Regions from separate parts of the Homo sapiens genome. Here region 2 is linked to region 1. Evidence: promoter capture Hi-C in 16 types of primary human blood cells and fetal thymus (Javierre and others, 2016). All regions are on one chromosome and are shown on one strand. Each heading gives the region's core, a stretch centred on a gene start or on the middle of the fragment in contact. The rest is flanking DNA. Distances are from core to core; before and after follow the strand shown. Region 1 holds the start of OR13A1 (olfactory receptor family 13 subfamily A member 1). Region 2 overlaps ALOX5 (arachidonate 5-lipoxygenase).

Region 1 (6,785 bases), core at 2,395-4,894:
TTCACAACAGCAAAGTCATGGAATTGACCTAGGTGCCCACCAACAGTGAATTGGATAAAGAAAATGTGGTACATATACTCCATGGAATGCTATGCAGTCATAAAAATGAAGAAAATCTTCAGTGCCATCCCCATCAAGCTACCAATGACATTCTTCACAGAATTGGAAAAAACTACTTTAAAGTTCACGTGGAACCAAAAAAGAGCCCGCATTGCCAAGTCAATCCTAAGCCAAAAGAACACAGCTGGAGGCATCACGCTACCTGACTTCAAACTATACTACAAGGCTACAGTAACCAAAACAGCATGGTACTGGTACCAAAACAGAGATATAGACCGATGGAACAGAACAGAGCCCTCAGAATTAATGCCACTTATCTACAACTATCTGATCTTTGACAAACCTGGCAAAAACAAGAAATGGGGAAAGGATTCCCTATTTAATAAATGGTGCTGGGAAAACTGGCTAGCCATATGTAGAAAGCTGAAACTGGATCCCTTCCTTACACCTTATACAAAAATTAATTCAAGTTGGATTAAAGACTTACATGTCAGACCTAAAACCATAAAATCCTTAGAAGAAAACCTAGGCAATACCATTCAGGACATAGGCATGGGCAAGGACTTCATGTCTGAAACACCAAAAGCAATGGGAACAAAAGCCAAAATAGACAAATGGGATCTAATTAAACTAAAGAGCTTCTGCACAGCAAAAGAAACTACCATCAGAGTGAACAGGCAACCCACAGAATGGGAGAAAATTTTTGCACCTACTCATCTGACAAAGGGCTAATATCCAGAATCTACAATGAACTCAAACAAATTTACAAGCAAAAAACAAACAACCCCATCAAAAAGTAGGCAAAGGATATGAACAGACACTTCTCAAAAGAAGACATTTATGCAGCCAAAAAACACATGAAAAAATGCTCATCATCACTGGCCATCAGAGAAATGCAAATCAAAACCACAGTGAGATGCCATCTCACACCAGTTAGAATGGCGATCATTAAAAAGTCAGGAAACAACAGGTGCTGGAGAGGATGTGGAGAAATAGGAACACTTTTACACTGTTGGTGGGACTGTAAACTAGTTCAACCATTGTGGAAGTCAGTGTGGCAATTCCTCAAGGATCTAGAACTAGAAATACCATTTGACCCAGCAATCCCATTACTGGGTATATACCCAAAGGACTATAAATCATGCTGCTATAAAGACACATGCACACGTAGGTTTATTGTGGCACTATTCCCAAGAGCAAAGACTTGGAACCAACCCAAATTTCCAACAATGATAGACTGGATTAAGAAAATGTGGCACATATACACCATGGAATACTATGCAGCCATAAAAAATGATGAGTTCATGTCCTTTGTAGGGACATGGATGAAGCTGGAAACTATCATTCTCAGCAAACTATTGCAAGGACAAAAAACCAAACACCTCATGTTCTCACTCATAGGTGGGAATTGAACAATGAGAACACATGGACACAGGAAGGGGAACATCACACACTGGGCACTGTTGTGGGGTGGGGGGCTGGGGGAGGGATAGCATTAGGAGATATACCTAATGCTAAATGACGAGTTAATGGGTGCAGCACACCAACATGGCACATGTATACATATGTAACTGACCTGCACGTTGTGCACATGTACCCTAAAACTTAAAGTATAATAATAAAAAAAAATAAATAAAAATAAAAAATAAAAGAAAATGAAGAAAATCATGTCATTTGCAGCAACATGGATTTGGCTAGAGGACTTTATCCTAGGCAAACAAATACAGAAACAGAAAATCAAATACCACATATTCTCACTCATAAGGGGGAGGTAAACACTGGGTACTGATGGACATAAAGATAGCAACAATAGACACTGGGGACTATTGGGGTGGTGAAGGAGGGAAGGGAGAAAGTGTTGAAAAACTGTTGAGTACTATTCTCAGTATCTGGGTAATGGGACCATTCATACCCCAAACCTCAACATCACACAATATACCCAGGTTACAAACTTGCACAAGTGCCCTCTGAATCTAAAATAAAAGTTGAAAAAGCAAAAATAAAACAGTAAACAACAACAACAACAAAACAGCAAAACCCTCAATAAATACATAAATAAAAATATAAATAAATGTCTTTGCCAGAGCTTTTTGTTTTTTGTGTGGCTTTGAGTTAGTATCTGGGGTCACGTTGCTTTTAAGCTGTTTGCTATCAACTGCATCCTATCTAATATTTCTTTTTCTTAATAGTAAACCACTCAATTTTTGTGAGGAGATATTACATTGTGGTTTTGATTTACATTTCTCTAATGATTTCCTTTCCAGTTTGGATGCTGAGCATTTTTTCTTATGTTTTTTGCCCATTCATATATAATTTTAAAAGAAATGTCTATTCAAATCCTTTTGCCATTTTAAAATCATATTATTTTTAAATATTGTGTTGTAGAAATTATTTATATATTCTGGATATTAACTCTTTATCAGATATATAATTTACTAATATTTTCTTCCATCCACAAGTTTTTTTTAACATTGTTATGTCCTTTAATGCATAAAAGTTTTAAAAAGTTTGATGTAGTCCCAATTGTCTATTTTTTCTTTTGTTGTCTGTACTTTTGGTGTCATATTAAAAAATAATTGCCATATCCCCTTATTCTAAGAGTTTTATAGTTTTAGATCTTCCATTTAAGTTTTAAATCCATTTTGAGTTAATTCTTGTATATGGCATAAGACAAAGTTTCAACTTCACTCTTTCATGTGTGGATATCCAAGTTTCCCAACACTGTTTGTTGAAGAGAATGTTCTTCCCTCATTGAGCGGATCTGGAATGCTGTAAATATTATTTGACCATATATGTGGAGTTTTCTTTTAATGGGTTCTTTATTCTATTCCATTGGTCTATATGTCTCTCTTTAAGCCAGTGTCATGCTGTTTTAATTACTGTAGTCTTGTAACATGTTTTGAGATCACGGAGCATGAGACCTTCAACTCAGTTAGTTTTCAAGATTGTCTAGTCAGAGTATATATGAATATTTAGATAAATTTTTCTCTTTTTTCAAAAAATGCAGCTTAGATTTTGATAGGGATTACATATAATTTGTAGACTGCTTTGGGTTCTATTGACTTTTCAAATTAATACATAATGTTGTACAGATTTGGGGAATACATCTGATATTTTGGAGATCTTAACATTAAATCTTCCAATCCATGAATACCAATGTCTTTACATTTATTTGTGACTTCTTTCAGTACTGTTTTGTAGTTTTCAGTGTACAAGCCTTTTATTTCCCTGGCTAAGTTTATTCCTAAGTATTTTACTATTTTTGATGGTATTGTAATTAAATTATTTTCTTAATTACCTTTGGATTGTTTATAGTTAATTTATAGAAAGGCAACTGATTTTTGTGTGTCGATTTTGGATCCTGCAACTTTCCAGAATTTGTTTAATAGTTCCAACAGTTTTCTGGATTTTATGCATATATGCATCTAACAGTTTTCTAGATTTTATGCAGGAGTCTAGGATTTTATGCATATAGGATCAAGTCATCTGTGAGCAGAGATAATTTTACTTTTTTCTTTTATTCTTTGGATGTCTTTTCTTGCTTAATTTTTTTTTCCTAATTGGTCTGCTTGGAAATTCAAATACTATATTGAATAGAAGCGAAGAGACAGAGTATACTTGTCTTGTTCCTAATCCAGAAGAAAAGTTTGAATCTTTTACCATTGAGTGTAAGTTTACCTGTGGATTTTTCATATATGGCCTTTATTATGTTATTTTCCTTCTATTCCTAGTTTGCTGAGTGTTTTCGTGATAAAAGGTGTTAAATTTTGTTAAACATTTTTTCTACATCAATATAAATGATCATGCTGTTTTGTCCTTTATTCTATTACTATAGTGTATTACATTGATTTTTGCATGTTGTATTATTCTTTTTTTTTGAGATGAAATCTCATTCTGTCATTCTGGCTGGAGTGCAGTGGCATGACCTCAGCTCACTGCAACATTTGCCTCCTGGGTTCAAGGGATTCTCCTGTCTCAGCCTCCCAAAGTGCTGGGATTACAGGCATGAGCCAGCACACCCTGCCACATGTTCTATCATTCTTGCATTCCAGGAATAAAGCCAACCTGATCATCACAAATATTGGTCTGTAGTTTTCTTTTCATGTAATGTCTTTGTTTGACTTTGAAATCAGGGTAATACTGGCCTCATATAATGAGCTTTGAAGTGTTTTTTATATTCATTTTTGTAAATGACTTTGAGAAACATTGGTTCTAATTCTTCCTTAAATGTTTGGTAGTCATCCGGTTCTGGGCTGTTGTTTGTTTGGAGGTTTTTGAACCAGTTTAATCTCCTTCGTAGTTATAAGTCTGTTCGTTTTTTCTACTTCTTCATGATTCACTCTTATTAGGTTGTATATTTCTAGAAATTTATGCACTTCTAAATTATCCAATTTGTTGACATATAATTAACTGTTGATGGTATTTTCTTATAATCCTTTTGATTTCTATGGCATGGGTTCTAATGTTCTCTTTTTTATTTCTGATTTATTAGTTGAATCTTTTTTCCTTAGTTAATCTAGCTAAGCATTTGTTAATTTTGTTGGTGTTTTCAAAAACCACCTCTTAGTTTTGTTGATTTTTTTCTATTGTTTTTATATTCTATATTTCATTTATCTCTGATTTAATCTAATCTTTAGGATTTTCCTCCTTCTGCTAGCTTTGGGTGTAGTTTTTTTTCTCTCCTAGTTTCCTGAGGTATAAAGTTAGGTTGTTGATTTGCAAACTTTCTTCTACTTCTTTTTTTTTTTTTCTTAAGTTGTGGAGATGGGGTCTTGCTTTGTTGCCCAGGCTGGTCTCAAATTCCTGGCCTCCAGAAGTTCTCCTCCCTCAGCCTGTCAAAGTGCTGGGATTGCAGGCATGACCCACCATGCCTAGCCACTTTCTTCCTTTTATAATGCACATATTTATAGCTATAAAATTCTCTGTTAGCACTGCTTCTGCTGCATCTTACACATTTTGGTACATTGTATTTTTATTTTCCTTTATCTCAAGATATTTTCTAACTTCCCTTGTGATTTCTTTTTTGACCCATTGCTTGTTGAAAACTGTGTTGTTTAATTTTCACATATTTGTGAATTTTTTGTTTTCCTTCTGCTACTGATGTCTAGTTTTATGTCATTTTCATCAAAATAGATATTTTGTATAATTTCAATCTTTTAAAATTTGTTACAAGTTTTTTTGTGGTATAACATGTGATTTATCTTTGGGAATATTCCATGTAAACTTGAGAAAAATACTATTCTGATTTTATTGGGTGGAATGTTCTGCACATGTTTGTTAGCACTATTTATAGTGTTGTTCAAGTACTGTATTTCCTTATCGATTTTCTGTCTTGTTGTTCTAGCCATTATTGTAAGTGAGGAATTGAAGTCGCCTACCATTATTATGCTGTTTATGTTTCCTCTCTGATCTGTCAATGTTTGCTTCAGATATTTAGGAGCTCTGGTATTAGAGGTATATATATTTGTAATTGTTATATCTTTCTGCTGAATTGACTTTTTGTTATATAATATCCATTTTTTTGTCTTGTGACTATTTTTGACTTTAAGTCTATTTTGTTGGATAGTAGTATAGTCACTTCTGCTTGCTTTTATTTACCATTTGCATGGCATTTACTTTTCCTTTTTTTCATTTTAAGCATATTTGTTTCTTAGACCTAAATGACAGGATAAAGTTGGATCCTTTTTACAAATCCATTTTCCAGTCTATATCTTTTGATTCAGGAGTTTAATCCATTTACATTTAAAGTAATTACTGATAGGGAAGGACCTACACTTGCCATTTTGTTGTTTCCTGTATGTTTTGTAAATTTTGTTTTTTATTCCTTCTCTTACTGACCTCTTTTGGGTTTTGTCGATTTTTTTTTGTGGTGACATTTTGATTCCCTTCCTGTTTCCTTTTGTGTGTATTCTATAGATTTTTTTATGGTTACCATAAGAATTATAAAAAACATCTTAAAGTGTTAACAAGCTATTTTAAACTGTTAAGAGAATAACTTCGACTGTGTACAAAAACTATTTCTTCAAAGCTCCTACCCTCACCTTAGGTTACTTATGTCACAAGTTACATCTTCATATGTAATGTATTCATTAACACAGTTTTATAGTTATTTTTAAGCTTTTGTCTTGTAAATTCTATACAAGAATTAAAAGTGCATTTATGTACCAAAACTGCATAGTACAGTCTCTATATATGTCCATATATTTATCTTTACTGGAGAGCTTTATATTTTCATAAGACTTCATGTTACTATTTAGCATCCTTTTGTTTCAACTTGCAAGATACTACAGCAGGTCCAGTGGTAATGAACTCCCCAGTTTTTGTTCATCCTGGAAAGGCTGATTTTTCCTTTATGTTTGAAGGATGGTTTTGCTGGATATAATATTTTTGGTTGAAATTTTCTTTTCTTTCAGCTCTTTGAATATATTATCCCCCTGCCTTCTGGCCTGCAAGGTTTCTGTTGATAAATCCACTGATAATTTTATAAAGGCTTCCTTTTACATGACAAGTTACTTTCTTTTGCTGCTTTCAAGATTGTCTCTTTGTCTTTGACTTTTGAGAGTTTGATTATAGTGTGTCTCACTGTGAGTCTCTGGGTTTTCTTTAACATTTTTTTTTTGTTCATATCTTCTGATGATGAATTCCTTTAACTTTTATATTTGTGAAATGTTTTTTCTTCATTTTCAGAAGGTATTTTTAGTGAGTGTAAAATTCTACATTGACAG
Region 2 (6,785 bases), core at 1,649-4,148, 63 kb before region 1:
TACAGGGAGCTTGCATGGATTCGAGTCGTCCTGGGACATTTGCAGTTCACAGCTGCATGGTGATGCCCAGAGAACAGTGAGACCAAGCAGCTCTGCTGCACCTGTGGCATTACTGGTGGCAGGGTGAGGCTAGCCTTGCAGCTAGAAGGCACCACCCCAGGCTGTGTACAGCGCAGCTGCCCAGGCCTCTGGGACAAGGCTGCTTGGCCCCCTCCCTGCCAGGCTCCTGCTTCCAGGACACAGGCGGCTCTGAGGCAACAGCCATAGCTTCTGGAGGGCTTTTGTCTCTGCAGCAATGGATGGCAGACAGGAAGTTGGGATGAGAGGCTCAGGCATTGCATCACGCATTCTGATGACCAGCAGGTTTGGAAAGCCCCGGACTCGATGCCCTCCAAGGCATGTTCTTTTTTATTTTGAGGTGGAGTCTCACTGTGTTGCTCAGGCTGGAGTGCAGTGGCTCGATCTCGGCTCACTGCAACCTCCACTTCCAGGGTTCAAGTGATTCTCCTGCCTCAGTCTCCCAAGTAGCTGGGACTACAGGCACCTGCCACCACATCTGGTTAAGTTTTGTATTTTCAGTAGAGACAGGGTTTCACCATGTTGGCCAGGCTGGTCTCAAACTCCTGACCTCAAGTGATCCACCTGCCTCGGTCTCCCAAAGTGCTGGGATTACAGGCATGAGCCACTGTGCCTGGCCCCTGCAAGGCACTTTCTAAGCCAGATTCATCAACCCTTGAACTTTATCCCTGGCGGCAGAACCTAGAGTTCTCAGCATGATGGCAAAGTGGAAGGGGCGAGGGGTATCATCCTTTGTGCGAGCGCAGGCATCCCCATTCCATGCCCTGCCTCCAAGCTGCCAGGAGGACCCCTGGAGGGCTTCCTAAGAGGAATGGGAACTTGAGTGTTTTCCACAAACCTCCTGGCTCTGAATACCGTGAGCAGTTTGGGGTGGCTGACGCTGAGGCCAGACGCTTGTGGTCAGAAAGCGGAAGCTTCCTCCCTGTGCTCTGTAGTCTAGGCCAGAGGCCCTAGGAACAGTTTCTGATGACAGAGGAGCCAGGCCCATGTGGTGGGATGACATGTCTTGGGTCCAGCCACATGTGGACCAGCCTCGGCCCCACGACAATGCCCCTCCTGCAGGGAGAGTATCAGCCTCATCTGCCACCTCTGAGAAAGCCTTCCTGCCACAGCTTGTCCTCAGGAGAGCAGGGCCACACACAAGGCCTCGCCCATCATGGACAGGGTGGGCAGGTTCTGATGGGACAGGAGTCTCAGCATCTCAGGGGCTCGGGCCCATCTGGAGGAGCAGAGTGGGGGCTGAGTGGCCCAGGACTGGATACGCGTCGGGCCTGCCCCACGCCAGGCCCTGCATGCCACAGGGATTTACAGAGGCCTTAGCTGCAGGTTGTGAGCCAAGACAGAGATTCCTGATCCCACCGAGGAGTGGGGAGAGGGCAGTGAGGGGTAGAAGGCTCGGTGGGCCCTGGGGTCTGGAGCTCTGAATTCACATCCCAGCTTCAGGCAAGTAGCTGGATGGCCTGGGCACATTGCTTCATTCTCTGAAGCTGTTTCTTCATCTACCCAAAGGAGATACCCCTCACTTGCAGGACCATTGAGAAAATGAAATGACACCATCCTGGGTGGCCTCCTTTCTCCAGAGGCACAGGCCACCGGTTGTGTGCATCAGAACCACCAGTGCCCCTTCCTGAATCCAGGGGGTTGCAGGGCACCAGGCCCCACACCGCCTGTGAGCTAGCATGGGCCCCTGCGTCACGGCCACTTCGTGACTACATGTGCCAATCCGAGTAACTGGAGCACACATGGGAGGAGGAAACTGAACCTGTGACCTCAAACTCCTTCACTCAAAGCCCAGAAGGAACTCCTGAAAGGCTGGAGACAGGGCTGTGAGGACAGAGGGAGAGTGGGAGGCATTCTGAATGCTGGTGGGGCAGGCAGAGCAAGTCTGTGTGCGGTGAGGACTGAGGGGCGGCCACCAGAGGCCCGGGCCTGGTCTGAGTGTGGCTGCTGCAGGGGAAGTAGCTTTCCTATGGCTCTGAGGGGCTGGAGAGGGAGGAAGGTGTCCCCAGGGGATAGATGACAGGAAAGCTGGGGTGGGGTGGGAGGAGCTAACAGGGACACTCTCATGGGAGGGAGGCTCCCAGTACCTTGGACTAAGAGGGGAGGGAGATGGGCTGAGGAGGCATTCCAGGACTGGGCAGGTCCCACAGGGAGGGCCCGATGTCTACCTGGGGGTGACGACCCACACGAAGAGACTGAGCAGCTTCTCTGAGGGAGTGGACAGTGGGGTGACCCTCCAGCACACCTGTGGTGCAGTCACAGGGGACTGGGACACTCCTGGCCCCCTGCCCTACCTACACCTGCAGGCACCTGGTGGAGAGCCCCTGAGTTTCACTTGGGGTGAAATCACTAGGCAGATTTACAAGGACTCCATCTGCCATCTGACAGGGACTTCCACAGCAGGAGGGGGCCAGGCCTGCAGTCTGGCTGGTCTATGGCCAGCCCAGCCACTTTCCTGGTGCTGGCTTCAAGCCTGAATATGATAAGAGGTGAACAAGGGGCAGAGGGCTCCAGCCTTGACCCAACTCAGGGAGTAAAAGACAAAGCTTGATGGCTGTGGTTCTAACATCCCAGGGGCCACTAATGGAAGAATGACAGATAAAGGCCTCCTTCCAGGAAAATACCAGGGTCACATGTGTCAAACTGCAAAATATCTTCGGAAGGTTTGTGGAACTACAATGGCCACCTTCCTCCCTCCTCTCTGGGCCAAGTACACTGGGCTGATGCTATATTTGTCTATTTGCTGTGACACATTAAATTCTCAGGTGACACACTGAATTATGGTGGGCACTATCAACAGTGGACACCCCCCAACAGGCCCTCAGGAAGCACTGGGCCTGGGAATGGCCGAGCGAGTGATTATCCTGCTTTACAGATAGAAACTGAGGCTCAGAGAGCAATGGTGGCCTCAAGATCAGAACCTACACCTGTGTGATGGCCAAGCCCAGGTTCCTCCCACAGTTCCCCAAGGCCACATCTTGAGAAAAGCCCTGAACCGGAAGCTAGAAGGCCCAGCTTTGAGCCCTGGTTTGTACCCTGGATGGAGTGTAAAGGGGCAATGTGGAGTGGCATGGAAGGACAGGGAAAAGCTTCATAAGAGGGTATTTCAGGCAGCTTTTAGGGGCTGATCAGATTTCAGAGGGCAGATGAGTAGGAGGATGGGCATGGGTAGCACATTTCAGATGTGGGGAACTGGGAGGGCAGGGTCCCCGGGGGATTCACACGTGGGAGGAGGAAGGCTGGACACAGTTTCTGGGGACAGAAGTGGGTGGCGTGGTGGTGCAGATGCTGGAGAGAAACAAGGGAAACCTGCAACTCACCGGCCTCATTTCACAAGGGGCCACTTTGCTGATTTTGCTTGTTGCTTTTAACTTTTTATTGGATATGTAGTTTTAAAGCTTTTGAATATTTCGGCAAAGAGTCAGTTGGTCAGTTTTCATGTGAGCTTTCTATCAGCATTTTAGGAAAGTTTTCATCTGTCTTTCATCAGATCTCTGCTGTTGCTGGGACAGGGAGACGGATCTCTCTGCGGAAGCAAGGATGTGTGCCCCACCCCCAGACTACCCATCTTGGAGGGGGACTAATGAGGGGCTGTGGGAGGAGGAAGCTGTAGAGCAGAGAGGAAGATTGGGGGCCAGACAAAACAGAGACTCGGGATGAGAGAGGGGGAGGCTATGGGGAAGAGCTGAGGAAAACAAGGGACGGAGAGAGGGATTGGGGTAGTGGATAGGGAGACCAAGGGGCAGAGAAGGGGGAAAATGTGGGACAGAGAGCCGGAGATTGAGGGAGCAGAGAAGGGGCCTCTGAGAGGTGGCTGGAAGACAGAGTGTAGAGGAAAATTCAGAGCAAAAAAGAAGGGAGAGTTGTAGGGTAGAGAGCAGAAACGGGGGGCATTTAGGGAACTGGGAGCAGGGGAAGGAAGAGGAGGCAGAAGAGGGGGCAGAATGTAGGGAAAAGATGGCTCAGAGGGGGAGACTGGGAGATGAGAGACGGATTGAGGGTCATACCAAAGAAATATTTATGCTCCACTAATATATTCCCATTCACAAGAAGGAGGTATTCTAGAATTAATTTTTCATGAATGTAAGAATACTCACTGACTTAAGAAGCATGAATCATTATAACACTTTTCTACACTTGTTGAACATATTCAAGTATCATATATTAAACACCACGCTATTGCCCTTAGCTTTCTTAAAAGTACCAGCACAGAATGAAATGGGCCAACTAAGATTTCTCAGAAATCTTCAGATCTGTTACAGTTATCGTATCCGATCTGAATTACTTTAAATTTACAGAGTTAAAGAAATAAATCAACTTGTTAAATTTGCCTAGACTTGGGTTAGCCTCTGGAAACAGGGCCATTCTGTGTAGGATCCCGGCTTTCTCCAGCAGACAGTGAGGAGCCAAGGAAGACACAACCGTTTATAGGATAATCCCACCTGCGAAGGACTTGATTCCCAGTCCTGACTGAATCACTATGCGGAACTCTGATGAGAATAACAAGGGACCTGTGACTCACTTTATCAAGGAAAAAATCAGTCCTGTCCATTATTTGACTGAACTATGCCCTGGAGGAGGGGGGTGTTGACCTGCCAATAACTTGGAAATGATTAAATTGTGTGGAAATACCTTTATTGTTATTGTTATCGTTACTACTGTTAACAATACAGATTTTAACACTTTTCCCTGTAAAATGGGATAACCTTGTCTTCTCAGCAAGTACTTCCTCTAGGGTTTCTCTTTTACCTTTACCCAAAAAGGATGATTGTCTTTACAGATACCAAGCTGGGAGAATGAGGAAGTAGTTCTGGGCTGGGCAAGAGAAAGTGTTGAGTAACTTTGCATCAACAGGAACTTTCTCAAAAGCTGATTTTTTCAAGGAAACTTTCAGCCTTAGCTGGTTCCCCACCCTGCGGTAGCCCCCACCCCCAACCACCCCCCGCCCCACCCCTGACTTATAGCCCTCTCAACCCAATGGAAATGTGACATGCAAATCTCTCCTGAAATTTGCCCCTGGGATTCCGGCTGAGGTGTTTAATTATAATGTCATTTGAATGACTTCTCAGGGTAGGGGAAGACAGACCGAGAGAGGGAGATAGTGGACAAAACAGTGCCTTCACTCTTTGTCCGAAGAGCCCGCTATGGCCACGTTATCATGTCCCCTGCAGGAGGAAAGCACACACGGGGTGCCCGTGCTGTGCAGTGTGAGCACACCAATGGCCTGTGCTTCTAGAACCTTATGATGTGTGGAGGAGAATGGGGAGGAGGAAGCACTTACAAAGGGGAAGTAGCCTGTACCCTGTCCTTCTCCCCCAGGTGTGGGGAATCCATGAAATAATGGAAGTAAATGAAGGTGCGTCAGAAATGGCAGAGGGTGCCATCACCCTAAATGGACGACACATTAACTCCAGGGCACCGCAGTCCTCAGGGTCAGTTCCCCGACTGGGGCAACTAAGCAACTGAAGGTTGCTCTTGTACTCAACACCTAACTCTTCTTGAAGGGAGCTCAAGCCAGGATGCTAGTGAACTTGGCTGAGGGCCATGTCGTGCTACAGCGAGGGTATGGGCTCCTGGATAGGAATCGAGCCCATGGAGAGCTTGGAATCCAGAAAAAGAGTAGTTTTTACTTACTTTAGGCTCTGCACACCTAAAACACAAATTTTATCCAAGAGTAATCAGTTGAAACATGAACTTGCCGGTTGTATTTGTCCATTATGAGCAATTTCACAAGGTTTGATCAAATAATAAACTAAATGGTGAGAAGGCAGCTTGGTAAAGTCTAAATCTTTTTGGTCCAGTTAGGAGCTGGGGTGGGGTGGAAGGGAACTGATATTCCCTGCGCACCTGCAGTATGTCTGGGACTATTACCAGTCATTTACGGAGCGCTTCCTCTGTGCCAGGTACTGGATTAGGCACTTCATTAAAGGCTCAGTGAGAACTGCGACCTGCCCATGCTCATGGAAAAGAGTCGTGGGGCTGGAATTCAGGTCCAGATCAGCATTAGGAACTAGCTTCCAAATGCTGAGGGCTCCCTCGCGTCCTCACACCTAGCGTGGAAGTGTTCCCTGGTGTACATTCTGCTGGGAGGGAGTGCAGCCCCTCCATTTAGGAAAAGCCTCTCCTGGCCTGGGTTCTGTTCCTTCCCTTTAATTTCCTCTGGGGACTGTCCTGAGAATGTAAGCTGCCCAGGTGCCGTCTGAGCCACCAGATGGGCCTGGGCTCACCCATGACTCATGGACCAGACTGAAGCCAACCCTCCATTTTCAGCTGGGGAAACTGAGGCCCAGACAGACGGTAGAGTGAGCTGGTGGTCATGTCTGGACAGAACTCAGGCCTCTGGACCCGCTGACGTGCACCCTTCCCCACGGCTCACAGCTGGCTGCTCCGAGGTGCCCTCAGAGTTCTGTGAGCATGACTCATCTGCCTCTCCCTCCCTGTGCGACCTGCAGAAGGAGCCTAAGGAAGAGGTGGCACAAGAAACGCGGCCCAGTGAAGGGGGCTCCGGAGCCTCGGAGCCCAGATCTTGAAGTGGAGGGGAAACCTTGGGCCTTCTCCTCCCAGGGAAGACGCCTTGCAGGCGGCACGCGGGAAGTCTCCGTTTCCGACAGGGGTCGCGGCCGCCGCGAGGGGTCCTGGACGCTTGCCCACCAGGGTACCCACCGGCCACTGGGAGCCCAGGGCACGCCCCACCGCAGTTCTGCCCT

What was found. The method cuts DNA at HindIII sites, captures the fragments that hold promoters and counts their contacts. A CHiCAGO score of 5 or more calls a contact.
Region 2: a fragment that was not itself captured here is called in contact with the fragment with the promoter of OR13A1 in region 1 in 1 of 17 cell types (total B cells); the score reaches 6.1 in total B cells.

The regions. Positions count from the first base shown.
Region 1 is chr10:45,312,467-45,319,251 of GRCh38, reverse strand. It overlaps OR13A1 (olfactory receptor family 13 subfamily A member 1), which reads left to right and starts at 3,644. Exons shown (of 4, transcript NM_001004297.3): 1 at 3,644-3,728. The HindIII fragment of the contact is 10,818 bases long and covers 1-6,179 here.
Region 2 is chr10:45,374,572-45,381,356 of GRCh38, reverse strand. The region is part of intron 1 of ALOX5 (arachidonate 5-lipoxygenase); the gene reads right to left. Among named protein-coding and RNA genes, the nearest start is that of ALOX5, 3.7 kb to the right of the region's middle. RefSeq lists enhancers at 6,154-6,762, 6,763-6,785. The HindIII fragment of the contact is 543 bases long and covers 2,627-3,169 here.